Linked DNA regions of Homo sapiens: all the other regions are linked to region 2. The links are contacts of gene promoters, found by promoter capture Hi-C in blood cells and fetal thymus (Javierre and others, 2016). All regions are on one chromosome and are shown on one strand. Each heading gives the region's core, a stretch centred on a gene start or on the middle of the fragment in contact. The rest is flanking DNA. Distances are from core to core; before and after follow the strand shown.

Region 1 (3,462 bases), core at 69-2,568, 1.6 Mb before region 2:
TCTATGCATTTCAGTATCATCAAGTTAACAATAACTCCAGAATAACACAAAAACCCACTAACAGAGTTTAGAATCCAAGAGTAAGAAAAACATCAGTTTCACAGAAAGACTAATTGGGGTCAACTAATAAGTGACTAAAGAAGGGTCCTCTCCCTACCCTTACTACCCTTAAGCTTTCTTAACAGCAACAAAAACAAAAAAAAACTTTTCGAGCTTTAAAGGATCACTTTTCAGTTTCAGCTATATCAGCCTGGTTTGTCCAAAACATCTAATGGGAAAACTACTTGTGAAACCACAAACAGACAATTACTCAAGATATCTTAATTTACCCTAAAAGAAAATACTTTTTAAAATGTTCTTCTTTTTAATATATTTTTTTAACTTTTTTATATATCTAAGTGTGAAAAAACTACCAAGAGTCTCATAAGACAATTTAAAATAGCTTCTGTGATTCAGTGTCAGCCAATGGTAACACCAGGAGATGCAGGGCCCACCCGAGATATGAAATGGAACAGAGATAATCTTAACCTTGGAATTGTTTTTCCCAAATATTGCAGGTGTGAGTTCTCTCTGGTGGTTGGAGATGGTGTGTGAGGAAGGCTGGCGGGCCGAGAGCCGCGTGACAGAACTCGAAAACTTTTAAATCTGAGGTGTCTGTACTTCTACTATTCTCAAGACCTCCTCAACCCCAGGCTTCTAAGGCGAGACCGATCTTCTGAGAGGCCTCTCCCTGTTTCAAAATTCGGCTTGGGGCGTAATCCCACCTAGAAAAGGGGAGTGGAAGTATTTTCTGAGTGTCTGGTACCTATTTAGACAGAAATACACAAAAATGCCACCATTTGCTAACAGGGAAATCTCAGCTTCGGACGACAGACTGGAAACATCATCCCAGGGAAGAAAAACGGATCCTGGCTCCGACATGGGGCAAAAAGGAGGGACCAACTGACGTAATGCAGCCCTGAAAAGCAACGAAGAGTATAACAGGTAGAAGGCACTTACACAACCCAGTGGGGAAGGGTGACGGACGATACAATGATGAAGGAAGCAGAAATAACAAATAAATATAGCAGTAAAGCCGTGAGGAGAAATGGGAAATTAGGGAAGGCGTAGTGTGGAAGGGTGGCACAAAAGAGCTACGGCGGGAGCCGAGAAACGAAGTGGAAAAGGCTGCACGGAGAAGACGTAGGAGAAGGCGCAAGCTACCCTGTAGAATTCAGTTCCTAGAAAAGTCCAACTCAGCCCTTCCCCGATTCACGGTACCTTTAGCTTATGGAGCTCCACCGTCTCGGTCGCCATCTTGTTACCCCTCACTCCACTAGGCCCCCACCCGCGGCCTCCGCCTCCAGGAGCTCCCGCCTTAGGCGTAGAGATGCAAGGCTGACCAATCGTTGTCACTCTTGCTCCCACGCCATACCATCAGCTCTTCCCATTGGTCAATAGCTGACGTCGCTCTCACTTCTCTAGGCAGCTTGCCCCACCTCTTTCAAAAGGTGGAACTGGGAGAGGGGCGGGCACTGTATCTTGCGAACGACAGAAATGGCAACCAACTGTGCTTCTGCATTACAGACCACCAACCAATGGGTGGTGGCAGCGCTGATTCTGTTCCTCCAATAGGAAAGGGGCAGAAGGAGAGGCGTTACTTCCTGGAGACTTCAGGTGTGGTAGCCGGCGCCGCGCCCATAGCCGGACGGGGATCTGAGCTGGCAGGTAGGAGCTGCAAAGACTGTAAGGGTTGCTGAGGAAAAATGGTGGGAGGCGAAAGGGGCGCCGAGGGAGTGGTGACCTAAATACTGAGAGGGGAGCGCTGAAGGGAGCCCTGAAAAAACCGATGAACATGAGGAGGAAGCTGGGAGGGGCATGGGGCGGGCTTAAGGAACTGGCGGTGGGGCTGGGGCGGGCAAGAGCCGCTTCCTAACCAGACATCATCAGCTTTAGAGCTACCACAATTTTAAAGATCCGAGTTCAGATAATCACTGCTGCCCCTGGAGTCAGAGCCAAGGCTCCACCTTTCGAGGTATTGAGCTCAGGTCCCTTCCTAACCCAGTCCAGAAGCCGTGGGCAAGTTGTTGTCGTGCCCCACGCTTGAGAGAAGTAATGGGGATGCAGACTGTTTACATGCCACGGAGGTGAGAGAGAGGGTGGACAAGCCCCAGAGAACAAAGTGGGGACCAGAGTGAGCTTTACTCTGTCATCCCTTCTTAGTGGTTCTTTGATGATTCCATGACTTTCGCCTGGAATTCTGGGTGTACGTGACCTCTTCATGGTTATTAACTTCTTCAGCAAAGTCAGATACTCCTATTTCCCTTGCTCCCTGAAGTGAGTGCCCCAAGCCTACACATACACCTTCATGTTACAGTTGACGTGTAAAGATCAGAGCAATAATGACTATGTCTCTGAAATGTAGTGAGGACTCTTCTTGTCTTTTAAAGTTTTCCCCAAGTCTTCAGTTTTTATTTTCTGCGTGATGGGTAAGTTCTTCATTCCCAATAGAGTTCAGGGGATTGGGGCTATCTGAGAGACAACTGGGAGATAGCTCAAGAGGGGTTGAGAAAAAACTGAGCTGGACTCCTGCCTGATCCCCCATTACGGCTAGGATGAATGTGGGGGTGGCACACAGCGAAGTAAACCCCAACACCCGAGTGATGAATAGCCGAGGCATCTGGCTGGCCTACATCATCTTGGTAGGATTGCTGCATATGGTTCTACTCAGCATCCCCTTCTTCAGCATTCCTGTTGTCTGGACCCTGACCAACGTCATCCATAACCTGGTGAGCACTAAACCACGCCCTTGTACCCACCCCAGGGTTTCCCAACCAAAAGCAAAATAAAATCACCAATTGTTTGGGGATTTATGTGTTCCTTTTGGGATCTTAACATAATTCTTTGACTGAAAAACTACTTTCTGCCCCTCACACTGCCACCTTCCCTGTTCCCAGGCTACGTATGTCTTCCTTCATACGGTGAAAGGGACACCCTTTGAGACTCCTGACCAAGGAAAGGCTCGGCTACTGACACACTGGGAGCAAATGGACTATGGGCTCCAGTTTACCTCTTCCCGCAAGTTCCTCAGCATCTCTCCTATTGTGCTGTGAGTCTATGGGGGAAATGAGATATGCTGGGTTAGAAAGAGCTCCAAGAGCCAGGTAGAAAGGCCCATAGGGAAGCTGTTAAAAAGCAGACTTCTCATCTAAAACCCTTTGAAGATATTATGGTATACTAGTTCTAAGCCTACAGAGAGCAGTAAAATGTAGATTACAGTCAATACTGTAATCAAGCATTCCTTGCTGCCTCCTTGGTAGTAAGGAAATGAAGGGACTGAGAAAAGATAAGTGCCAAATAAAACCAAATGATTTTACACTGCCAAAAGAAGTAAATAAAGGCAGAACTGATATTAATCTTCAAAAACACTGTAGGGAGTGGAAGCAAAGAGGACTGTAACAGTCATACAGACTGAAATAGCTT
Region 2 (3,801 bases), core at 720-3,219:
ATTTTTTTAAAACTTTACATTGTGAAGCTCTGCCAAGAGCAATGGCTCACGCCTGTAATCCCAGTGCTTTTGGGAGTCTGAGGCCAGAGGATCACTTGAGGCCAGGAGTTCAAAACCAGCCTGGGCAACATAGCAAGATCCCATCCCTACGAAAAAAAAATTGTGAAGCTCTACTAATCATATAATGGACACAAAGACAAATGGAACTTCAACTCTGAAATTTAACTTGTTAGGAGTTCATCAGGCCTTCAAGAAAAAAGTTATCTTTTCTCTCAACTCTCTGGAGAACAGCAACAGGGTAAGAAAAATACAACTAAAAACTGAACTGAATTAATCTAACCGGCCACTTTTCACCACTATTTAAACTTTTTGTCTTTCCCGGCGCGGTGGCTCAAGCCTACCACTTTGGGAGGCCAAGGCAGGTGGATCACTTGAGCCCAGGAGTTCCAGACCAGCCTGGGCAGCAAGGTGAAACCCGTCTCTACAAAAATCAGCCAGGAGTGGTGGCTCATGCCTGTACTCCCAGCTACTTGGGGGACTGAGGTAGGAGGACGGCTTGAGGCCAGGAGGCAGAGGTTGCATTGAGCCGAAAAGGAACCACTACACTCCATTCTGGGTGACAGACTGAGACCCTGTCTCAAAAAACAAAATACAACCTTTTGTCTTGATACCCCAGCAACAAAAAGGGGGGCGGGGGTGGGGGGGGAATATTGGTGGAACAACAACAAAAAAAAGCATTAGGAAGAAGAGCCACAAATAATTCAACTGCAAATCTATCTAAAAATACAAGAAAATGCTAGGAATTTGTGATATTCCTGAAGTGAAACCTGTCACTTTCCTCCTTCCTTGAGTCTCCACGTGGCTTACGCATATCAGACAGGACTCAGGCTTCTCAATCTTAGTTATCTATTTGAACAACATTATGTACAAGGATATTCATCCAACTGGGATCTGAATTCAAACTTTTCCACTTTTCTTTCTTCCGTTTTAACGCAGTTCTGGGATTGTTATTCGGTCATTTCTCATCATTATCCAATGACAATTCACTCTAAGTCAGTATTCCTGGTAGTTCCGAGACTTAATGGCCACAAATGTTGAAAAATGTTAGCTCTACGGGAAAACGAATCGAAGCGTTTTCAGGGGCTCGAGTAGTTATGAGCTTAGTGTAGGCCCAAGTTTTAAGCTATAGAAACATCTCCCTGTATGTGCCAACTCAAATCCCCGTCCCTGTAAGAAACCTGGACACCAGCATGATTTTAAACACTTCTACACCTCTCCGTCCTATTTTTCCATGCTCCACGCTCGAAGGAAAACCGCCACCCAAGAAACACACGGAGCTAGCCACCCCGAAGCACTGGAAGGGCGCAATAGTTTTTAGGTCACCCCGCAAAGGCCACAGGTGGCGCCACCCCCCTGCCCCCGCACCGCCGCCCTCCGCCCCGCGCCCCCAGCTTCTCTCCAGCAGCGCACACTTGGAGCAGTCCTTCCCGCGGCCATCCGACCCTGACCCATCGTCCCCGGGACCGGCTGCCGGGCGCGAGGAACCCAGGCCGCGGGGCCTCCTCGCGCCCGCCCGTGCGGCCGCCACGCCCCCTCCCCACAGGCCGTCCGGGCCGCCCGCCCCCTCGGCCGGGAGGTGGCCTCACCTCGCACGGGCCTTGGCGGGGAGGGCGCCCACGTCTCCGCCCGCCGCCCGGGCCCACGGCCGCTCGGCTGCGGCTCGGCCCCGACGGCCGGCGGCGGCGCGCTTCTGGGGGCGGGCTTTTCTCGGCCGGGGCTTCCCCGGGGCCGAGGGCTGGGAAGCAGGGGGGACTGGGACGGGGGAGGGGAAAGGGGCTTGGGAAGGAGGGGGGAGAGGGGAAGAAAAGGGGGGAACCAAACCCGGAAAGGGAGAAAAGGGGGGAGGGGAAAATCAGAAGGGGAAGAAAAGCCCAGAGTCCGCCCCCCGCTGCGGCTGCGCGCTACGTCACTACGTCCGGCGTTGTCGTCACCTCGTCCTGCGTTCCGGCCGTCCCTGCTTCCTGGCTTCCCGCGTGCCCCTCAGCAGCCCTGCGGGGCCTACCGCCTGCCGCACGCACTCCCGCCGGCGCGCGCGCACTCGCACTCGCTCGCTCGCCCTCTCCTCCTTCCGCGTTACCTGTGTCAGGACACCAATCCGGAGTCACTGGGAGCCTCGGTCCTCCTTAAACCCTTCAAGTCTGTCAGATAGAATACCCTGGATTTCAATATAATACTAATAGTGATCATTCTAAAGTAATTTCCATTTACAGAGCACTTTCACTTAGGGCAGTAACTCCTGTACCAAAAGAACGTACACTCGGTATTTGTTGCATACGTGGATAACTATAGTTGAGCAGGTAAATGTCCATTTTACGTAAAGATGAAAAAAACCGACCTAGGAGGAACTCAGTCTGTCCTATTAAGATCACATTCTTACCATCATCCCCTCTCTAAGATACAGTTCTCAAAAATCGTCTTAAATGTCCAGCCTCCCCCGTTTTGTCCATTCTAGGCAGAATCAATTTAGTTATTGATTATGTGTGTGTGGATAATTTACTGACCAAACTCCCTCAAAGAAGCAATGTAGTCTTTTGTAGAATTCGACCATTAAATATTTACCTTGTGACAGAAACTGCGGTAGGCAAAAAAAGTCAAATAATTATAGTACAATTTAAGTGCTATAATAGAAAGGTTTAAATGTGCTATGGAAACACAAGGAACAGCAATTCGTTCTTAGCGGTAAAAGAGATTGAGTAAGTTACAGAGAAACTACAGGTGAAACTCCAGCTAATCTTGAGACTATAAATAGTTCACTAGAGAGGTAAGAATGGAGATTCCAGCAAAGTCATAGAGGCATGAAGTTCATCTTTCCTTCAAGGATGAGCAAGTTCCAGGTTGGTTGGCGTTTTTTGTTTGTTTGTTTGTTTGTTTTATTTATTTTGAGATGGGGTCTCGCTTTGTCACCCAGGCAACTAGATTGCAGTGGTGCAATGTCGGTTCACTACAACCTTCACCTCTCAGGTTCAAGTGATTCTCCTGCCTCAGCGTCCGGAGTAGCTGGGACTACAGGCACGCACCATCACACCCGGCTATTTTTTGTATTTTTAGTAGAGACGGGGTTTTGCCATGTTGGCCAGGCTAATCTCGAACTCCTGGCCTCAGGTGATCCACCCGCCTCGGCCTTCCAAAGTTCTGGGATTACAGGTGTGAGCCACCTTGCCCAGCCCTCTCTCCTGGTCATCACTGCCTCCTGCCCCCAAATTCTCTCAACCCTCTAGAGAACAACAACGGGGGAAGAAAAATACAACTGAACTGAACTGATCTAACCTGCCACTTTTCACCACGATTTAAACTTTTTGTCTTGGCCGGGCGCAGTGGCTCACACCTAGCACTTTGGGAGGCCAAGGCAGGTGGATCATTTGAGCTCAGGAGTTCCAGACCAGGCAGTGATGACCAGTAGGAAATAATAGCTAATATTTGTATTATGTGTATGTAAGTACAATATAAAATGTGTAGCATTCTACATCTATTGTTAGTATCAAATCCTCAATACAATAGGTACTATTATTATACCTGTTTTATAGATGAGGAAACCTGAGGCACAATAATGAAACCAAAGTTCCAGATTTTTTTTTATTTTTTTTGAGACGGAGTCTTGCTCTGTCGCCCAGGCTGGAGTGCAGTGGCATGATCTCAGCTCACTGCAACCTCCACCTCCCGGGTTCAAGTGATTCTCCTGCCTCAGCCTCTCAGGTAGCTGGGACTACAGGCATGTGCCACCACGCCCGGCTTATTTTTATT
Region 3 (3,564 bases), core at 8-2,507, 1.1 Mb before region 2:
CACATCACTACACTCCAGCCTGGGTGACAAAGCAAGACTCTGTCTCAAAAGAACAACAAATTGGTTTTTGCCTGTCACCAAGCAGGCTGTCCCATGCATCTTTCTCCCCACTGTTCCCTGCTCACTGCCAGCTGGTGTCTATTTAGGAAACTGAAACTTATGCTTGTTGCAGCCTGAGCCTAACAGAACAGAATTCATGCATATTTGTGGTCTAAAAAGGTCACATGATTTTATTACAAAATAAAGAGAAATGCTTGGGGTGGGAGAGTCTTCTACTAACATGAATAACATCAGCTGCCTTTCTACCTCCAGCAGGAACAAGGGAAGGGAGGGATTGGGCAGGGGCTATTTTCATTTTAACTCTTTTAGTAGTGCTTGATTTTTAAAACTATGTATCTGTATTGCTTTTATGATACCAAAAAAAAGTTAAAAAAATGATCAGGTGGCCAGGCATGATGGCTCATGCCTGTAATCCCAGCACTTTGTGAGGCCCACAAGACGAGAGGATGGCTTGAGCCCAGGAGTTTGAGACCAAGCTTGAGCAACATAGTGAGATTCCATCTCCAAAAAAAAATTAATGATGAGGTCCCAATTCTTGAGGATTTAAGTGTCTGATATTAAAGGAGCAAGTCAGCAAAGATTCAAATATGAAAACAAAACAAAAAACCTGGTCTCCCCAAATGGATTGCAAACACTGAGGTTAAGGGCTGAAACAATTTTTTCTCATTATCTCTCATTCTTAGGCACATATTTTGCACTCAAGAAGCTTTTCTGAAATGAACTGAATTTTGTGTGTGACCTTAGGCAATCGTTTCATCTTTCAGTAGCTTATACTTTTTAACAAAACAAGGATAATAGATTTATCTATCTTTGTTTTTAGATTTATCTATCTTTGAACATCGTTTTTTGGTGAAGATAAAAAATAATGCAGAGCAGAGGGAAAAACGTCAGATACCGAACCAACATAACAATGCCAGATTCCGGGTCTCGGAAGCTGCAGGGCAGTTTTGGGAGAGGGGCATTAGGGTTAGGGAGATAGGCTGGACAGAAGAAGATCGAGGACCGAGCAGGCGACAGCTCCTATTTCAATCTGGGGACCGAAGCTACCCTCTCCAGGGGGTAACCCCTGGGGCCAGTCGCCCTTCCCTCGGAGGAACTCTCACTCTCACCCCCACCCCTACCCCAGCACACCCTCTCAGGGCCCGTACCTGATTAGGGTTGCAGTCCCCGCGCCCTCCAATGGCTCTGGTCGCGACTTCCCGTCCCTAGTATGAGCTCGGGTACTAGAACCTCGCGCCCCGCCTACAACTTCGGCTAACCCCCCTCGGACCCGCCCCCTTGTAGTTGGCAGCGGAAGTCCGGAGCGGCCCCCATTCCCAGCCGCCACCCCGACACTGGCTGCCATTCAGTCAAGCCCTTCCCAGACTGCGAGCTCACTGGCGCCGCCGCAACTCCGCCCCTCCGCAGGGCGGGACAAGCTGAGCCGAAACCACACCTGCAGCTTCAGCGATTGGTGGAGAAGTTCAAGTAGGCACTTTCTACGAGGGGAGGAGTCCAATTAGTGGACTAGCCCAAGACTGAAACAGCTGATTTTCGAGAACCCGCGCGTGAGCCCCGGAACCGAAACTAGCTTGAGGAGCCTGGAGACGCCAAGGGCTCCATGGGAAGGGGTGGGACCGGAATTTCGACGCCTTGGGATAGGAAGAGGAGGGCTGAGGTAATGAAAACAATTTTTTTTTATTTTTATTTTTTGAGACATGGTCTCGCTCTGTCACCCAGGCTGGAATGCAGCGGCGCGATCTCGGCTCGCTGCAGCCTCGACCTCCCAGGCTCAGGTGATTCTCCCGCCTCAGCCTCCCAGGTAGTTGGGACTACAAGCGTGCATAACTCCGCCAGGATAATTTTTTGTATTTATTGTAGAGACGGGGTTTCGCCATGTTGCCCAGGCTGATCTTGAACTCCTGACCTCAGGTGATCATCCCGCCTCAGCCTCTCACAGTGCTGGGATTACAGGCGTGAGCCACCGCACCTGGCTAATAGCTATTTATTGAAAGTACTGTGATAAGCATTTTAGATTCATTGTATCATTTTAAATTTACAGGGCAACTCATTGAGGTTAAAATCATTCTATCTCCTTTAGAAACTTCAAAACTGATCTTAGTTCAAGAAAGAAGTTACTATTCAGTGATCACCGAGGCTCTAACAAGTGGAGCCTAGATTCGAAACCAAACCCTGTGACTTCAACACCCAAACATTTACGTTCTTACGTTTTACTGTACAGCCTTCCTCCTGGATAAATCAGATTAAAATTTTGAAGACATGTATATAGCTTGTCAGGGTAGTACAGTTATTAATTCTGTGGTTACCACATTCTTTTATATCTCAAGACTCCCAGCCCCAGGATCTAAGTCATAGCTCTTGATTATGGCCCACCCCCAGTAGGGAGCTGAACTTACTACTTCTGATATGAAAGAAGCCAGAGTAGTTGTTTCTTCCAAGTCACTCACATCTGAGATGGCCCTCAAACCCTCCTTGGTGGTCTCCGGCTGAGAGATGTTTGCGTCTTTCTGATCTTGGTAATACTGGATCAACTGCTGAACCCCAGACCTTAATGCAGGTTTAAGTGCAGCACTGATCGCTAGACCCATAGGCCCCCCTGACATCCCAGCCATGGTCATCAGAAGGTCATATCCCAGATCTATGGCCCCATCTCGGCCTCGTTCCCTGGCCTTGCCCAGGCAGTTTTGAGTAGCATAATACAAAGCTGTGCCCAGGTTGTAGAAGGTTCCCACTCCTGGCAGCAGCTGGACTACATTGTGCACAGCTTGCTCCTTCTCATTCTCACAGTCCTCTGTCGGGAGGGAGCGCCCGACCCTTCCTGTGCTTTGCTGCTCCCTGGCTAACAGCTGCAGAGCAGAGGCCAGGGCTTCCACTGACACGTTCCTCTCTGTGCTTCTGCCTTTCTGGAGCCCTCGAAGATGCTGGATGAGGACCTGTGTAGCATTCACACCACCCTGGCGGTAGAGCTGTAGCTGTAGAGCCCAAACATCAGCCTGACAACCAGCTTCCTCCAGGGCATTCCTTAGAGCCAGGCTTACCAAGAACTTGGGTAGAGGGGCCATGTGGCTGAAACCAGGCAGTGACTTTGGGTGCAGAAATTGGCAGGACAAGGGGTCTGAGGAGGGTGTCTGGGATTCCAAGGACAAGGGAAAGTGCATCAAGACATTTGTCTGCTTTCCATATGAAGTGGCATCCACAGGGTGCAGCAGGAGGTAGCAAAGTAGCAGCTCAACTGGTATCATGATGAGTCTGAGGCCACGCATGTCTGGAGCAGAGTACCCTAGAAAGGGGAGAAATCCGAAACATACAAACCATTTCCCTAAGGGCGATGGTGAGCCCAAGACTCAGTTAGGGGGACACCTCATACATCACCTGCTTCCAAGCTTTTGTACTTTCTTTTTAGAGACAGGGTCTTGCTCTGTTGCCCAGACTAGAGTGCAGTGATGGGATCACAAATCACTGCTGCCTTGAATTCCTGGGCTCGAGGGATCCTCCTGCCTCAGC
Region 4 (3,767 bases), core at 191-2,690, 1.3 Mb before region 2:
TGTTTCTTGTTTTTGCACTGAATCAAGTCTAACCCCAACAGCCACATCCTCCTATACCTAGACATCTCATCTCAGGAAGTGGTGGTGGGGGTAGTCAGAAGGAAAAATAACTGGACATCTTTGTGTAAACCATAATCCACATGTGCCGTAAATGATCTTCACTCCTTATCCGAGGGCAAATTCACAAGGATCCCCAAGATCCACTTTTAGAAGCCATTCTCATCCAGCAGTGAGAAGCTTCCAGGTAGGACAGAAAAAAGATCCAGCTTCAGCTGCACACCTCTGTCCCCTTGGATGGGGAACTAAGGGAAAACGTCTGTTGTATCACTGAAGTTTTTTGTTTTGTTTTTATACGTGTCTGAATAAAAATGCCAAAGTTTTTTTTCAGCTTCCTGTCTGTCAAATGAAGACATTTCGTATGTTAGATAAGAGATCTGCTCCTCAGCAGTGGATACTCACCTTTCTGTGTTCTGACAGTGCTACTCTGTCCCATGCAGCTTTCTCTAGTCCTACTATTACTTCTATTTCTTTAGAACAACCATAGCGCATAGTCCTTTTCATTAAGGGTTTTAGTAGGAATCTACAAGGCAACCAATTGGGAATAACAAAAAGAACCTACGTGCTTTAGGACTTATAAAAAGCCCTATAAGCCCTCCTTCAGAGGCCAAACACTGAAACCTCCAGATGCTTCTGAATTCATTATCTTAGAAAAGTCATCAAATCTTTTTATTTTTTCACGGTAAGAACTCTCAACAAACATGTCTTTCTGAACACTTCCCTTAGGTGCTCCATCCAGGTGCCTGTTATTGGAACAATAAAGTCATGTTACTTCATTAGGAGTCCGGCCTCTAGATTGCGAGGCCTTTAAATGGATGATCCCTCCGGTGTCTGGCTGCCCAGTTAGCCCCCGTTACCAGCACCCTTGGTCTTCTTCCACCTGTCTGCCCCTCCCTGTTCTCCCAGCTTCGGAGGACGACTGGACCGGCTGGGCGGGTTTCGCCAGCCGACCCAGGGATCCGAAGAAGGGCGCACCCAGCCTCCCCGACCTAGGTGTAGACACTGCCCACCCGCTGCGGCTCCACTCTACTCCACCCCTGCCCGCTCGACTTTAAACCTATTTCCCCGCCGTAGCTCCGCCCCTCTCCCCTCAGCCCGCCCCTCTCTGTTACTGGCTCTCGCTCAGCGTTCTCGGTGGAAGTGGTTTTTCCGGGAGAGACCACGCTTCCCCTCAAGCTCCCCAACGGCTCCGCCTTCCCGCCGGAGCCTGACCCTTCCCAGAGTGCCCGGCGATTCCGGCGTGCGAGGCCCTTGGAGGGCAAGGCCCCAGGGCCTGGCTTAGGAGCGCGAGAGGCAGGCTGGGAATTGTAGTTCGAAGGCCCTCGAGAGCGGCTAGAGTCTGGCGGCCGAGAGGACTAGTTGTCCCAGCGTGCCCTGCGCCTCAGCCCGCGCGCTCGCAGCTTCTCGCTCTCGCCTGCCTGCCCGCTCCCTTGCTTGCTCGCGCTTTCGCTCGCCCTCTCCTCGAGGATCGAGGGGACTCTGACCACAGCCTGTGGCTGGGAAGGGAGACAGAGGCGGCGGCGGCTCAGGGGAAACGAGGCTGCAGTGGTGGTAGTAGGAAGATGTCGGGCGAGGACGAGCAACAGGAGCAAACTATCGCTGAGGACCTGGTCGTGACCAAGTATAAGATGGGGGGCGACATCGCCAACAGTGAGTGCGGCCTCGGGGGTCGGGGAATCAAGGCTGATAGGGAAAGGTAACAGGCTGGCCCGGAAGGGGCTGGAGCGGAGGGGTCATGCGGACTGAGCTACTGAGGGGCCCGCACCGGTCCGCTGGGCACGGCGTGGTGGGAAGACCCGGTGTCGCGCCTGGGACCTGAGCGGGCAGGCCCAGGCTGAAGTCTATGGAGGTGCGGGTCGGCGACCAGGATGAGCGCAGAGAGGGGACCCTGGCAGGCTCCGACCCGAGGCCGTTTGTTAGGAGGCAAGACGTGTTTTCTCTTGTTCCTATCCTTCATTCCCGATTATTGCTTCCTCTGATTCTGGCAGCGGCGAGGCCACCTCGAAAAGGAAGCGCCCAGCTATTGGCGACAGAAGTGCCCCTCTGTTTTTGTAGCGTCTCCGGGGCGTCAGGAGCCAAGCCGGCACGTGTTGCTGGGTCCCATTGCGGATGGCTGGCCCCCTTCTTACTCCGCTAGTGTCCCTGACACCAGCTTCCCCACCACCAGCTTCCCCACCACGTGCTTTGCTGGAGCCTTTCCTTCTTTACTTCAGCTCTTACCCTGGTGGGGGCCCCCTTCTACCTTGGGCCAGCTAAGGAGACCGTTGGAGAGCACTCCTGGAGCTTCTAATGCAAGTCTTGGAGATATATATGGCTTTTCTTGAAGTTACTCATTACTACCACCTTTCCAATCTGTGCAGATAGTCTTAGTTAGCATTCACATTTGTTGTTCTCAGTGACTTGACAACTCAAATGTTTTGGGGTCTCCGTCTTATCCCAACTAGGCAAGCTTGTGAACATTACTGGAAAAGGGAGGACTGATTTTAGGATTTTCACAAGTCATCCTTACTCCAGGTGTGCTCTGACGATCTCAGCAGTTGCCTGTCACTCTAGGCAGATGCCACTTTCTCTTTTCTCTCTTTCCAGTTAGCCTTTCCATTTTATTCCAGTTAGGGAGATACAAACTGCTTGTCATTGTGCTTTTAAATGGTTTTAACAGCAAAGATGGTGGGGAACAGGTATTTAGGATGCCTCCCGTCCTGTGGGTGAAAATCTGAGTTTTACCAGCTTTCAAAGAATCACCAAAACTGAGATACCAAAAGTCAAACCTGTGCTTTATATCACAGTGGACATTTAGTATCGTACCCTGGTTTTTGGTGCCTTTTAGTATTTGAGATACTAGTGGTTTGAATCAGAAAATCTCTTACAGTTTATAACTTTGGCCTCATATTTCTTTTAGATAAGCCATGATCCCCCGAAATGAAACCCAGGGACCTTAGATTAAGTTTCCTTGGCTTATGCACTTGTTTATGAGGAAATAAGTCTATATAGATTGAGATTCCTAACACCTAATTAGAGTGTCTGAGAAAGGAATGCGGTAACATTTAACAGTGCATCGGCTTCGAGTCAGCAATTCTGTCTACCTTCTTGTCCCTGATGCCTATAAATTTCATCTAGTCTTTGCGTGTATGTGGGGATACCATGGCAAGAACCCTCTGAAGTTCATAACTCTGTCCTGTCACACCAAAGGTAGCATCTTTGGAAAGTCTGAGGCCTTGCCTAGGGAGATGGATTGTATATACCCAGTTGTCACATAATGTAAGGAAGAGAAGGGAATGTTGACCTTTCAGCCTCAGGGCAATGGCACCAGGGAGTATTATGGAAACTCTTAAATTCAACTTCCAGGTATTCCTTGGGTGGTAACTAGACAATGAATACATACAAGGCTGACATGATGGGATTCTGTCCTCAGGGGTACTTCGGTCCTTGGTGGAAGCATCTAGCTCAGGTGTGTCGGTACTGAGCCTGTGTGAGAAAGGTGATGCCATGATTATGGAAGAAACAGGGAAAATCTTCAAGAAAGAAAAGGAAATGAAGAAAGGTAAAAAAAAAAAATCCCTCACTAATTTTCCGTTTGACCCTTATTTGGTCCTATATGTTTTTATTTTTTTCACTGTAATGACGCAGTCCCCACCCCAGCTCTGGCTGAGGTATTTGGAAATTTGGAATGGCAAGTGGGATACAAGCAGTTTCCTACCTAATCCAAACTG
Region 5 (2,588 bases), core at 1-2,500, 1.7 Mb before region 2:
ACATATATATAGTGATGTTTGGTCTTCACTCCTTAGATTCTATTTAATTAGTCTGGAATCAAGGCTTTTTTTTTTTTTTTTTTGAGACAGAGTCCCACTCTGTCGCCCAGGCTGGAGTTCAGTGGCGTGATCTCGGCTCACTGCAACCTCTGCCTCCCAGGTTCAAGCGATTCTCCTGCCTCAGGCTCCTGAGTAGCTGGGATTACAGGCTTGTGCCACTACGCCTGGCTAAATTTTGTATTTTTAGTAGATACAAGGTTTCACCATGTTGGTCAGCCTGGTCTCGAACTCCTGACCTCGTGATCCGCCCGCCTCGGCCTCCCAAAGTGCTGGGATTACGGGCGTGAGCCACCGCACCCGGCTAATCACGGCATTTTTATAAGCCTTGTGATTTCTGTGATTCTAATGTTTAGATTCTAATGCTTAGCCAGGGTTGAGAACCACCGATTTAATCCAATCCCTTCTCCTAGTTTTACTAAAGAGAAAACTATAACCTAGAATGGTGAGCAACTTGCCCAAAGTCACCCAACATGTTAGTGCAAGGTGCACCGAGAGAGATTGTACCAGTAGCAAGAATATGCTCATGATGTTTATAATTGTTCTCGCTGGAGTTAATCCCGGAAGCATTTCTTTTTAGTTCACAGAGGCCTTATATAAATTACTTTTTACTTTGGCACAGCACTTACGCTTCTGCTAACACTGAAATGGGTTCGCATTCCTGACCACAAAAGGACAGAGATGAAATTCTACATTCACACAGCCCGCCAAGTTAGCCAAGCTCCCTAGGAGGCTGTCTGAAGTGCCTAAAATGCTTCTCTACAATGATCACCCAGAGCTGAGAGACTTCAGTGGGGTAGTGAGAAGAAAGAGGGTTGGGAGAGACAGGAAAGCATCCTCTCCTTGAGGGAAGGAACTGGGAATCAACTGAGAACCAGCTAGCACTGCCAGGAGGTGAGGAGAGGGAAGGAGAATAATTTAAATGAGGCCAGGGAGCTTCTGCTCCCTCAATTAAACGGTGATAGACGGCCTGACACCACCAGCCCTCGAAGCCTGAGATCCACAGGAAATGTTAAAAACTGGCTTGGCAATATAAGTATTAGAAAATACTTCTTCCAACACTCACCAAAAACTAAGCTCCCAATAAAGAACACTTCACCTGCCCTCCGCAACCCTCTACCTCTCTTCCCCGCCAAGATCTTCACCCAAGGTCTCAAGAGGGCGGTTCCCAACCTCACGTGACACAGCGGTCACGTGACATGGCCCCGGGGAGCCGAGGTGAGCGTTCCAGCTTCCGGAGCCGGAGGGGGCCCGGCGTACCCAGCCCCCAGCCCGACGTGACCATGCTGTCCCGCCTCCTAAAAGAACACCAGGCCAAGCAGAATGAACGCAAGGAGCTGCAGGGTGAGCCAAATATCCTGTCGGCCGTTTTCTCTTCGGCCGCGGCCTAGCTTCAGCCCGGAGCCTGGATCTCGAGTAACTAACCATATCCAGGGAAAGACGCCAGCTAGCGGGCAACGGGCATGGGGGAGAGGGAATTTCAGAGAGGCTTTTTTTGAAACTCCTTTCCCTTGCCAACTGGCTCCGGTCCCTTGGGCAATACTCCGGTCCCCTCGGCAACGCCCCCAATCCCCGACCTGCCGCACCTTAGCCCCGCCCCTGCCCCGGAGCGCCCTGCCTATTGGCCCTGGGAGCCTCTCGTCCTGGCGGCGGGAAGGAGCGACTCTGGAGGGAGGAGGGTGTGGGGAACCCCCCAGAGATGGGCTTCTTGGAGGCCTGAAACCACCGGAACGGAGGTGGGGCACTTGTTTCCTGAGTCCGGGCTGGAAATCTCGGAGTTACCGATTCTGCGGCCGAGTAGTGGAGAAAGAGTGCCTGGGAGTCAGGAGTCCTGGGCGCTGCCGCTGACTTCCTGGCGTCCCTGAGTGAGTCCATTTCCCTCCCAGGGTACCAGTTTCCTCATCTCTAAAATGAAAGAGGTTGCGCTATGTTTTGCAAGGTCCTTTTCAGCTCCGGCATTCAGAGATTAGTTAAGAAATTTCGGCAACTAGCAGAATAGTAATGGATGGGTAGGGAACCTTTAACACTACCCCTCAAAAAACCAAGTCTCCCCTCCAATTCCTTTTCCCCCTCTCCCCAGAAAAGAGGAGGCGAGAGGCTATCACTGCAGCGACCTGCCTGACAGAAGCTTTGGTGGATCACCTCAATGTGGGGTATGGACCTCTTATCAACATCAGTTTCCTCCTTCCCCACCCCGCCCAAGTTTAGGCACTGGCCAGTCTGGCCCTCAAATAGCTGTTGAAGGGGTGGGATGTTCCACTAATTCCCCTATCCTACCCCGCCCCTCCCAGCTCTTTGTAGAGCAACTTGAGTCAACTCTGAGTCCTAGCACTGGGCAAGGGAGGAACAGCTGCCGTGGTTAGAGAAGCAGCCAGATTTCCCCTTCCCCACGTTAACTTCCCTGGCATTTACAACTTGATGCCATCTGCCCACCTCCCTTCACCCTTCCAAGTCCAGCTGTCACTTCAGCAGGAGGGAGAGCACCCTCCTTCATTACAGCTTACCACCCTCTCCTCTGCCTCCCACCCTCT
Region 6 (3,543 bases), core at 1-2,500, 1.4 Mb before region 2:
TATTTTTAGTAGAGGTGGGGTGTCACTATGTTGACTAGGCTGGTCTTGAACTCCTGACCTCAGGTGATCCGCCTGCCTTGGCCTCCCAAAGTGTTGGGATTACAGGCGTGAGCCACTGCACCCAGCCTAAGGCTTAAGTCTTTCCGATGGCTCTTCAGAGGTAAATGGAGCTTACACATAATCTTTCAATTAGGGGTCAGATTCACTAATGAGTGGTGAAATAATTTTCGTGGTTTTTGATCAGCATTTATTAAAATAGAGAACAGAAAGATTAAGTAAAAATAAAGAATAGAACATACCAGCACACCTATGACAAGGGTAAGTATCGTTTCATAAAGCTTGTGTTTCAGTTTTGCATGTGCATGTAATCGTGTTTGTGTGTGTACTGGGTACCAATGTAAAATGTATTCGTGCTATGAATCTGGGTGAAAAACGTTTAAGTCATTAGTCCAGGCTATTCCTCCATCCATTTGTTAGGTGACATACAGCATAGTACAGCGGAGCCAGAATACCTACTGCACGTCAGTTCTTCAATCTTTTTTTTTAATTGATTTATTTATTTTTGAGACAGAGTTTCGATCTTTTTACCCAGGCTAGAGTGCAGTGGCGCGATCTCGGCTCACTGGAAACTCCGCCTCCCAGGTTCAAGATTCTCCTGTCTTAGCCTCCTGAGTACCTGGGATTACAGGCGCCCACCACCAGGCCGGGCTAAATTCTTCAATCTTTAAAGTGAGGATAATAATAGTAGCTACCTATAGGCTTGCTCAAAGTTAAATGAGTTAATATTTATAAAGACGCTTACCACAGGGCCAGGCACTGTGCCAGAGATAAAAAGATGAATGAGAAATAGCCCCAGCCTCAATGCACTTCATTGTGGGATTTTCTCCATATTGGAAGGAGGGATTCACAAAATGCTTGTTTCCTCTCAGGCCTTCCTCTTCGTAATCCTACACCTACCTAGTAGAAGGACTGTCAGAGAAATGAGCCCAGGGCGTCCCCCGGTGGCGCAGCGCCGCCTTCGGTCTAAGCACTTGGGGCAGGGGGGAAGGGGGGGAGGGGGGAGCCTCTTGGCTTCGCACTACAATTCCCACCAAGCATCTGTCCCTCTCTGGCCTCTAATAACGAGTGCGCCTTGTGGTCCAGCGTCTGGCAACTTTCACGCCTAGCGTCGCGTATACCGGAAAACTGCATCGTCCAGAATTGCTTCCGAGTCGGCGCGGCGCAAGGCTTGCTGGGAGACACATAACCTCGATTTTCTTCCGCCATCCGGCTAAATAGTCCCATGTGCACTTTGTTCCATGGATAAATAAACACTAGGAACGCATTTCCACCCTAGATTTCAGCAGAAATGCTGAATGTAAAGGAATATTTGAGTAAAGTGAGTTGCCGTTCTTGAAGCCCGTCTCCTAAGGATTCTCCCGGTGTCCGCGTAGGGATCTCATGCTATATAGGAGGGCCCTGCCAGGCACCGTCTCCTCTCTCCGGTCCGTGCCTCCAAGATGGTGAGTCTTCTTGCGTGGTGAGGGTGGGGGTTCGGGTGCAGACTCTGGGATTGTGGGGAAGTGAGAGCCTGGAGCACGGCTGAGGGGTGGACCGAGTGTACATTTCATTTGCTCTGGGGGTCGGCGGGATTTGCGGAGAAACAGGAGATCCGAGCGGCGCCTTCCTGGAGGCTGCCGGTGCGGCTTGTGGCCGGAAAGGGACTGAGGCTGGGTGAGTTGCGCCGTTTTCCTAACAGTTTTCCCATCCTGTCGCAGACAAAGAAAAGAAGGAACAATGGTCGTGCCAAAAAGGGCCGCGGCCACGTGCAGCCTATTCGCTGCACTAACTGTGCCCGATGCGTGCCCAAGGACAAGGCCATTAAGAAATTCGTCATTCGAAACATAGTGGAGGCCGCAGCAGTCAGGGACATTTCTGAAGCGAGCGTCTTCGATGGTAAGTGGGTCACCGGCGCGAACTGTGTGAGGATCCCAGTATCTTAAAGCCTTCGCCCAACTTCGCCCTTTTGGAGGCTCTGTTCTTTGGAGCCTCTCAGGCAATTTCCACGTATTTAAGGTTGTTACTGGTAGAAGAGAATTCTCTTGTTTGCCGTTTTGATTCTTTTCTGGGCAGAGGGTGACTTTGTGATAGAGTGCACAGCCTTTACTCTGAGGTAAAGGTTTGCCTGTTTCGGTTATGAGATTGCAAAAACTAGAAACTTGGTAAATTTGACAATTCTTGTGCTATTGATTATTTGAATATTTGTGAAAATATACAGGTGAGGAAGAATGTCTTCAACGTTTCGAGAATGGAGGCCGTCTAGTTTGGTGTGCAAGGATGATGTTTGGAGCAATAAGAACGTCGCTTTGTTTTTTTCCTTTTATAGAAAGAGCAAGGTTCAGGGTAGGCATTAGGGCGGGTGTAGGTGTAGAAGGAACTGGATTATTGGTTTATTGCATTTAGAATGTCAGTCTGGTCCTTGCGGTGTCAAGATGAACTCACGTGGGATGTTAATTCACTTGTAAAACTGAGGGTTATACATATGTGCTCAGGTATTGGGCTGAACAGGTGCTTTGGGGGTGCTTTTATGTGCCCGACAGGCATTTAAATAGGTTTAGTTTTAATTGACGTAAACATGTAAGGTGCTCTTCATTCATGTAACAAAAAAGCAAGGTAGGTATATAATACCAGTATAACTCTATTTTCTATTCCTTAGCCTATGTGCTTCCCAAGCTGTATGTGAAGCTACATTACTGTGTGAGTTGTGCAATTCACAGCAAAGTAGTCAGGAATCGATCTCGTGAAGCCCGCAAGGACCGAACACCCCCACCCCGATTTAGACCTGCGGTGAGTATTTTAAAAGGAGAATGGAAGCCAGGGGAGTGATGGTTAAAATTTCATCCTGGAGGGTCAGGGTGTCCTATACCTGTAACCTCAACACTTTGGGAGGCTGGGACAAGAAGATTGCTAGAAACCAGCAGTTCAAGACCCCATCTCTTCAAAAAATATTGAGAAGGAAGCCAAGCATGATAGTGTGAACCTATAGTCTGGCTGCTCGAGAGGCTGAGGCAGGAGGATCACTTGAGCCCAGGAGTTTGAGGTTGCAGTGAGCTATGATTATACCACTTGCGCTCCAGCCAGGGCAAAAGTGAGACCTTGTCTCTTAAAAAAAAAAAAAAGTTGCTTCCTCCTGTGGTGCAGGGGGTATCAAATTAAGGTCTGTGCCTCAGGTTAAGCTGTAAGGCAGGTGAGACCCACACCTGAACATGCTTAGAGACACTGCAAAGCAGTGTTAGAATCAGAATTGGTTTTTAGGATGCAGAGTAGTGTTCTCCCTCCACCTCTATCAGCTTCCCATGCATTTGTAGCCTGAATACATCAGTTTGTGAGAGGATGGTGGTCAAGTTCTTTGGGGGAAGGGAGTCTTGGATCCATGGGTTTTAATTTACTCTTTTGTTTCTTTGTCTTTCAGGGTGCTGCCCCACGTCCCCCACCAAAGCCCATGTAAGGAGCTGAGTTCTTAAAGACTGAAGACAGGCTATTCTCTGGAGAAAAATAAAATGG
Region 7 (3,360 bases), core at 850-3,349, 1.2 Mb before region 2:
TGCGGAGAGGCAGGCCTGCAGCGTGACCTGCTGCGGGTCCGGCCCCTCTCCCTTTTCCAGAGCCCTGGTCAGCATCCCAGAGCTTCGTAACCCCTTGACTCCTGTCATGGGAATGGATATTGCAGTTAACAAGGCGGCCGCGGGGTGGGGAGTGAGGGAGTCTGACCGCAAAGCTTAGATCTGGGGTGCTCAACGGGTTGTCTGCCTCTCTCCCAGGCGCTCTCCTGCCGTATCCACGATGGCTCCCCGAACACTTGTGGAGTTCCCTGAAACACCTAAGAGGAAGGAAGGGAGAAAAAATTTCCCTCTTCCTGAGTTGGGGTTTGATTTCCTTAGCTTACAACACCGTGGTGTTGGGGATGTGGGCGGTAGAGAACGTGGGATCCAAGGGAAGTCAATGTGGAGCCTAAAGAGCTCCGTGAGCAGATAAGGGATTAATTAAGCAAACCAAGGCATTACAATCACATGACTTCCTAGACTAATCTGGTATTAAATAGTATGGTATTTATTGTGGACATTGGCTAAGCAAATGCTAATGCACATTAATACACACATACACACATATCTTTATGTAATTTGTTTATACACAACAATACAGAGCTAGCTACCTTTTGTGGACAATTTGACAGGTCCCAAAAGGAACTAAAGTTTCAGGCCTCCTTTCTGCTGTCTTCTAGCGGGACTCTGAGATAAGTAAGATAAGAGTAGTATGGCCGGGCGCGGTGGTTCATGCCTTTAATCCCAACACTTTGGGAGACCGAGGCTGGTGGATCACGAGGTCAGGAGTTTGAGCCCAGGCTGGCCAACGTGGTGAAACCCCGTCTCTACTAAAAATACAAAAAAAGTAGCCGGGCGTGGTGGCGGGCGCCTGTAATCCCAGCTACTCGGGAGGCTGAGACAGGAGAATCGCTTGAACCCGGGAGGCAGAGGTTGCATTGCAGTGAGCCGAGATCGCGCCACTGCACTCCAACCTGGGCGACAGAGCAAGACTCCTTTGCCGGGGTGGAGCGGTGGGGCGGGGCGGGGAAGAGTAGTATGGCCAGGTGCAGCGGCTCACGCCTGTAATCCTAGCACTTTGGGAGGACGAGGTGGGCGGATCCCTTGAGGTCATGAGTCCGAGACCAGCCTGGGAAACATGGCGAAACTGTCTCTACAAAAAAAATACAGAAATTAGCCGAGGGTGGTAGTGCGAACCTGTAGTACCAGCTACTACGGAGGCTGTGGTGGGAGGTTGCAGTAAGCCAAGATTGCACCACTACACTCCAGCCTGGGTTACACAGCGAGACCCTGTTTCAAAAAAAAAAAAAAAAGGGACTAACAATGTTTCTCTCTTTGTCGCAGGTTCCATTTCTTCCAAGAAGGGTGAGCCTGCCTTTTGTCTCTGGTGTAAATGCCACTTTTCCCAGAGACCTTGACCAAGCTGGGTAGTGCATTAAAGATGAGAACCCCAAATCAGGAACAAAGATAACGGTTAGAGCAATAAAAAGGGAGGAAACCGTGTGTGCCTACTGTGTGCAAGGCACTTTTTTAAATATAACTTCCGTTTTCTCGTAAGATGGAATTACATATTTTTTGTCTTTTTTTCCCTTTTTGTGGAGAATGGGGTCTCGTTATATTGCCCAGGCAGGTCTGGAACTCCTGGACTCATGCTATCCTCCAGCCTATGCCTCCCTACGTGCTGGGATTACAGGCGTGAGCCACCGCGCCTTGCGGAATTGGAATTACATATGTTTAAATAGTCGAGAAATGAAGTGAAGCATTGAGCCAGGATTCAAACTTTTGTCCGCCAGATTCCGAAGCCCTTGCTCCTTTTCCCATTGTGTCACTCTTTGGAAAGAAACGTCTTAGAACCTAAGTGCATTCTCCCTAGCCAAGTTAAGGAAAACTGGGGGCCCTGTGCGCCTTCTAGTGGTGGATTTTTCCCCCTACAGAGCCAACTATCTCCAAGGTTCCTTTAATACCTGAAATTCGCCCCCTTCGCGGCGCACGAGTCTCTGATCCCGATTGGCTGGGCAGGGCAGGCGGCGGGACGCAGGGCGCGCCCGGGCGGTGCTGATTGGCCGGAGGAGGCCAGCCGGGGGAAACTTCCGGGAATGTCCGCACTCCCGCGTTCCACGGGGCAGCATCCGGCGGCAGCGGAGCCTGTGGCTCCCCCTGCGGGCTGCTCAGCGGCGTGCACAGTCCTGCCGGCTGGCTTGGGTGGGTGGTGGGCTGCGGGTAGGGGAGGGGATGGACCGAGTCCCGGCTTGTCGGGATGAGGGTTCCGGAAGATCTGGCCAGTAAGATTCTACTCCCTGGCTGTGCACCGGGTTCCCTACCCCTGTCTACGTCGGCTCCGCCACTTCGCGGCTTGAGACTAAAAGAGCATCCCGGCAGGGGGCCTTCCAGCCCCAAAGCAGCCTGTCCAGAGACCCCCAAATTCTGATCCTGAAGTTGGAGGCCTCCGGGGATGTTCTTTTTTAATCTTTTAGAAGGGTTAGAGGGGTTGAGGCTGCCTGACCCCAGCCTAATGGGGTAGGTAGGCCTTGGGAAGTGGAGCATGGGGGCAAAGGATCCAAGCATTGAGCCTTCATCCTCTATTCCCCATCCAGTGGGGTGCCGAGGCTCAGGCAGCATGACGACGGAGACCTTTGTGAAGGATATCAAGCCTGGGCTCAAGAATCTGAACCTTATCTTCATTGTGCTGGAGACAGGTGTCTATACTGGGGTGGCGGGTTCGCGGGATGGGGGTCGGGGGCAGGAGGGGAAGAACGCTGTCTGCGTTCTTAACTTGCTATGGGGATGGCAAGGCAAGCTGCAAGACACTCCTCACTCCCAATCTCTTCGACCCTGGGACAGAAAGTTGCAGTCAGGTATAGGGTAGATAGAACTCTTGCCAGATCTAGACCTCCTGTGCGACGCGGGCCTCTTTCCACTCAGGGCCCTCTCCATGGTGCTGGCCCCTGAACTCCCACCTCCACCCTCCACCACCCCTTCCACAATCCCAACCCTTTATGCCCCAGGGATTTGGGCTTTCCCCTGTTTGTACACCTTTTCCCTCATTCCACCAATATCCACATCTCATCCTTCTGAGAGATACCACTCCATTTATTTGACCATCCTCCCACCTCGATTTATCTGTTCCGTTCAGGCCGAGTGACCAAGACAAAGGACGGGCATGAGGTTCGGACCTGCAAAGTGGCGGACAAAACAGGCAGCATCAATATCTCTGTCTGGGACGATGTTGGCAATCTGATCCAGCCTGGGGACATTATCCGGCTCACCAAAGGGTAAGTCAGCTGGTGACTTCTGGCCTTCCAAAGGCAACAACAATCAAGAGTGGGGTTAACAGTCCCTATAACACTTCTGAGTACTGAATTT

The links. The method cuts DNA at HindIII sites, captures the fragments that hold promoters and counts their contacts. A CHiCAGO score of 5 or more calls a contact.
Region 1: a contact is called between the fragment with the promoter of SARNP here and the fragment with the promoter of R3HDM2 in region 2, in 5 of 17 cell types (naive CD4 T cells, total B cells, non-activated CD4 T cells and 2 more). The highest score is 8.5, in naive CD4 T cells.
Region 3: a contact is called between the fragment with the promoter of STAT2 here and the fragment with the promoter of R3HDM2 in region 2, in 3 of 17 cell types (non-activated CD4 T cells, monocytes and naive CD8 T cells). The highest score is 8.9, in non-activated CD4 T cells.
Region 4: a contact is called between the fragment with the promoter of PA2G4 here and the fragment with the promoter of R3HDM2 in region 2, in 1 of 17 cell types (monocytes). The highest score is 7.5, in monocytes.
Region 5: a contact is called between the fragment with the promoter of BLOC1S1 here and the fragment with the promoter of R3HDM2 in region 2, in 1 of 17 cell types (fetal thymus). The highest score is 5.7, in fetal thymus.
Region 6: a contact is called between the fragment with the promoter of RPS26 here and the fragment with the promoter of R3HDM2 in region 2, in 2 of 17 cell types (fetal thymus and monocytes). The highest score is 7.2, in fetal thymus.
Region 7: a contact is called between the fragment with the promoter of NABP2 here and the fragment with the promoter of R3HDM2 in region 2, in 1 of 17 cell types (monocytes). The highest score is 6.4, in monocytes.

What each region holds. Positions count from the first base shown.
Region 1 is chr12:55,816,406-55,819,867 of GRCh38, forward strand. SARNP (SAP domain containing ribonucleoprotein) reads right to left here and starts at 1,319. Exons shown (of 11, transcript NM_033082.4): 1 at 1,261-1,319. The coding sequence starts at 1,296. ORMDL2 (ORMDL sphingolipid biosynthesis regulator 2) reads left to right here and starts at 1,636. Exons shown (of 4, transcript NM_014182.5): 1 at 1,636-1,707; 2 at 2,594-2,768; 3 at 2,937-3,088. The coding sequence starts at 2,595. The HindIII fragment of the contact is 4,326 bases long and covers 172-3,462 here.
Region 2 is chr12:57,429,074-57,432,874 of GRCh38, forward strand. It overlaps R3HDM2 (R3H domain containing 2), which reads right to left and starts at 1,970. Exons shown (of 24, transcript NM_001394031.1): 1 at 1,647-1,970. It overlaps R3HDM2-DT (R3HDM2 divergent transcript), which reads left to right and starts at 2,043. Exons shown (of 2, transcript NR_185976.1): 1 at 2,043-2,357. RefSeq lists an enhancer at 1,112-1,221 and a silencer at 1,402-1,871. The HindIII fragment of the contact is 10,065 bases long and covers 1-3,801 here.
Region 3 is chr12:56,358,850-56,362,413 of GRCh38, forward strand. STAT2 (signal transducer and activator of transcription 2) reads right to left here and starts at 1,258. Exons shown (of 24, transcript NM_005419.4): 1 at 1,209-1,258. APOF (apolipoprotein F) reads right to left here. Exons shown (of 2, transcript NM_001638.4): 2 at 1,719-3,340. The coding sequence ends at 2,376. RefSeq lists enhancers at 125-324, 156-325, 1,401-1,580, 1,651-1,740. The HindIII fragment of the contact is 2,677 bases long and covers 765-3,441 here.
Region 4 is chr12:56,103,119-56,106,885 of GRCh38, forward strand. PA2G4 (proliferation-associated 2G4) reads left to right here and starts at 1,441. Exons shown (of 13, transcript NM_006191.3): 1 at 1,441-1,707; 2 at 3,470-3,598. The coding sequence starts at 1,620. It overlaps ERBB3 (erb-b2 receptor tyrosine kinase 3), which reads left to right. Exons shown (of 28, transcript NM_001982.4): 28 at 1-387. It overlaps LOC105369782 (a long non-coding RNA gene), which reads right to left and starts at 1,301. Exons shown (of 2, transcript XR_944995.4): 1 at 1,170-1,301; 2 at 696-800. RefSeq lists enhancers at 1,136-1,485, 1,496-1,715. The HindIII fragment of the contact is 2,269 bases long and covers 236-2,504 here.
Region 5 is chr12:55,714,796-55,717,383 of GRCh38, forward strand. BLOC1S1 (biogenesis of lysosomal organelles complex 1 subunit 1) reads left to right here and starts at 1,251. Exons shown (of 4, transcript NM_001487.4): 1 at 1,251-1,401; 2 at 2,138-2,210. The coding sequence starts at 1,257. It overlaps BLOC1S1-RDH5 (BLOC1S1-RDH5 readthrough), which reads left to right and starts at 1,239. Exons shown (of 6, transcript NR_037658.1): 1 at 1,239-1,401; 2 at 2,138-2,210. It also overlaps a transcript of ITGA7 not described here. RefSeq lists enhancers at 1,296-1,435, 1,716-1,955. The HindIII fragment of the contact is 4,864 bases long and covers 1-2,183 here.
Region 6 is chr12:56,040,668-56,044,210 of GRCh38, forward strand. It overlaps RPS26 (ribosomal protein S26), which reads left to right and starts at 1,251. Exons shown (of 4, transcript NM_001029.5): 1 at 1,251-1,502; 2 at 1,758-1,935; 3 at 2,696-2,826; 4 at 3,452-3,543. The coding sequence starts at 1,500. The coding sequence ends at 3,487. RefSeq lists enhancers at 972-1,761, 1,210-1,539, 1,680-1,939 and a silencer at 1,000-1,059. The HindIII fragment of the contact is 3,314 bases long and covers 337-3,543 here.
Region 7 is chr12:56,222,243-56,225,602 of GRCh38, forward strand. NABP2 (nucleic acid binding protein 2) reads left to right here and starts at 2,100. Exons shown (of 7, transcript NM_024068.4): 1 at 2,100-2,199; 2 at 2,592-2,693; 3 at 3,131-3,269. The coding sequence starts at 2,615. RefSeq lists enhancers at 1-572, 1-91, 573-1,506, 923-1,217 and a silencer at 1,949-2,188. The HindIII fragment of the contact is 18,635 bases long and covers 172-3,360 here.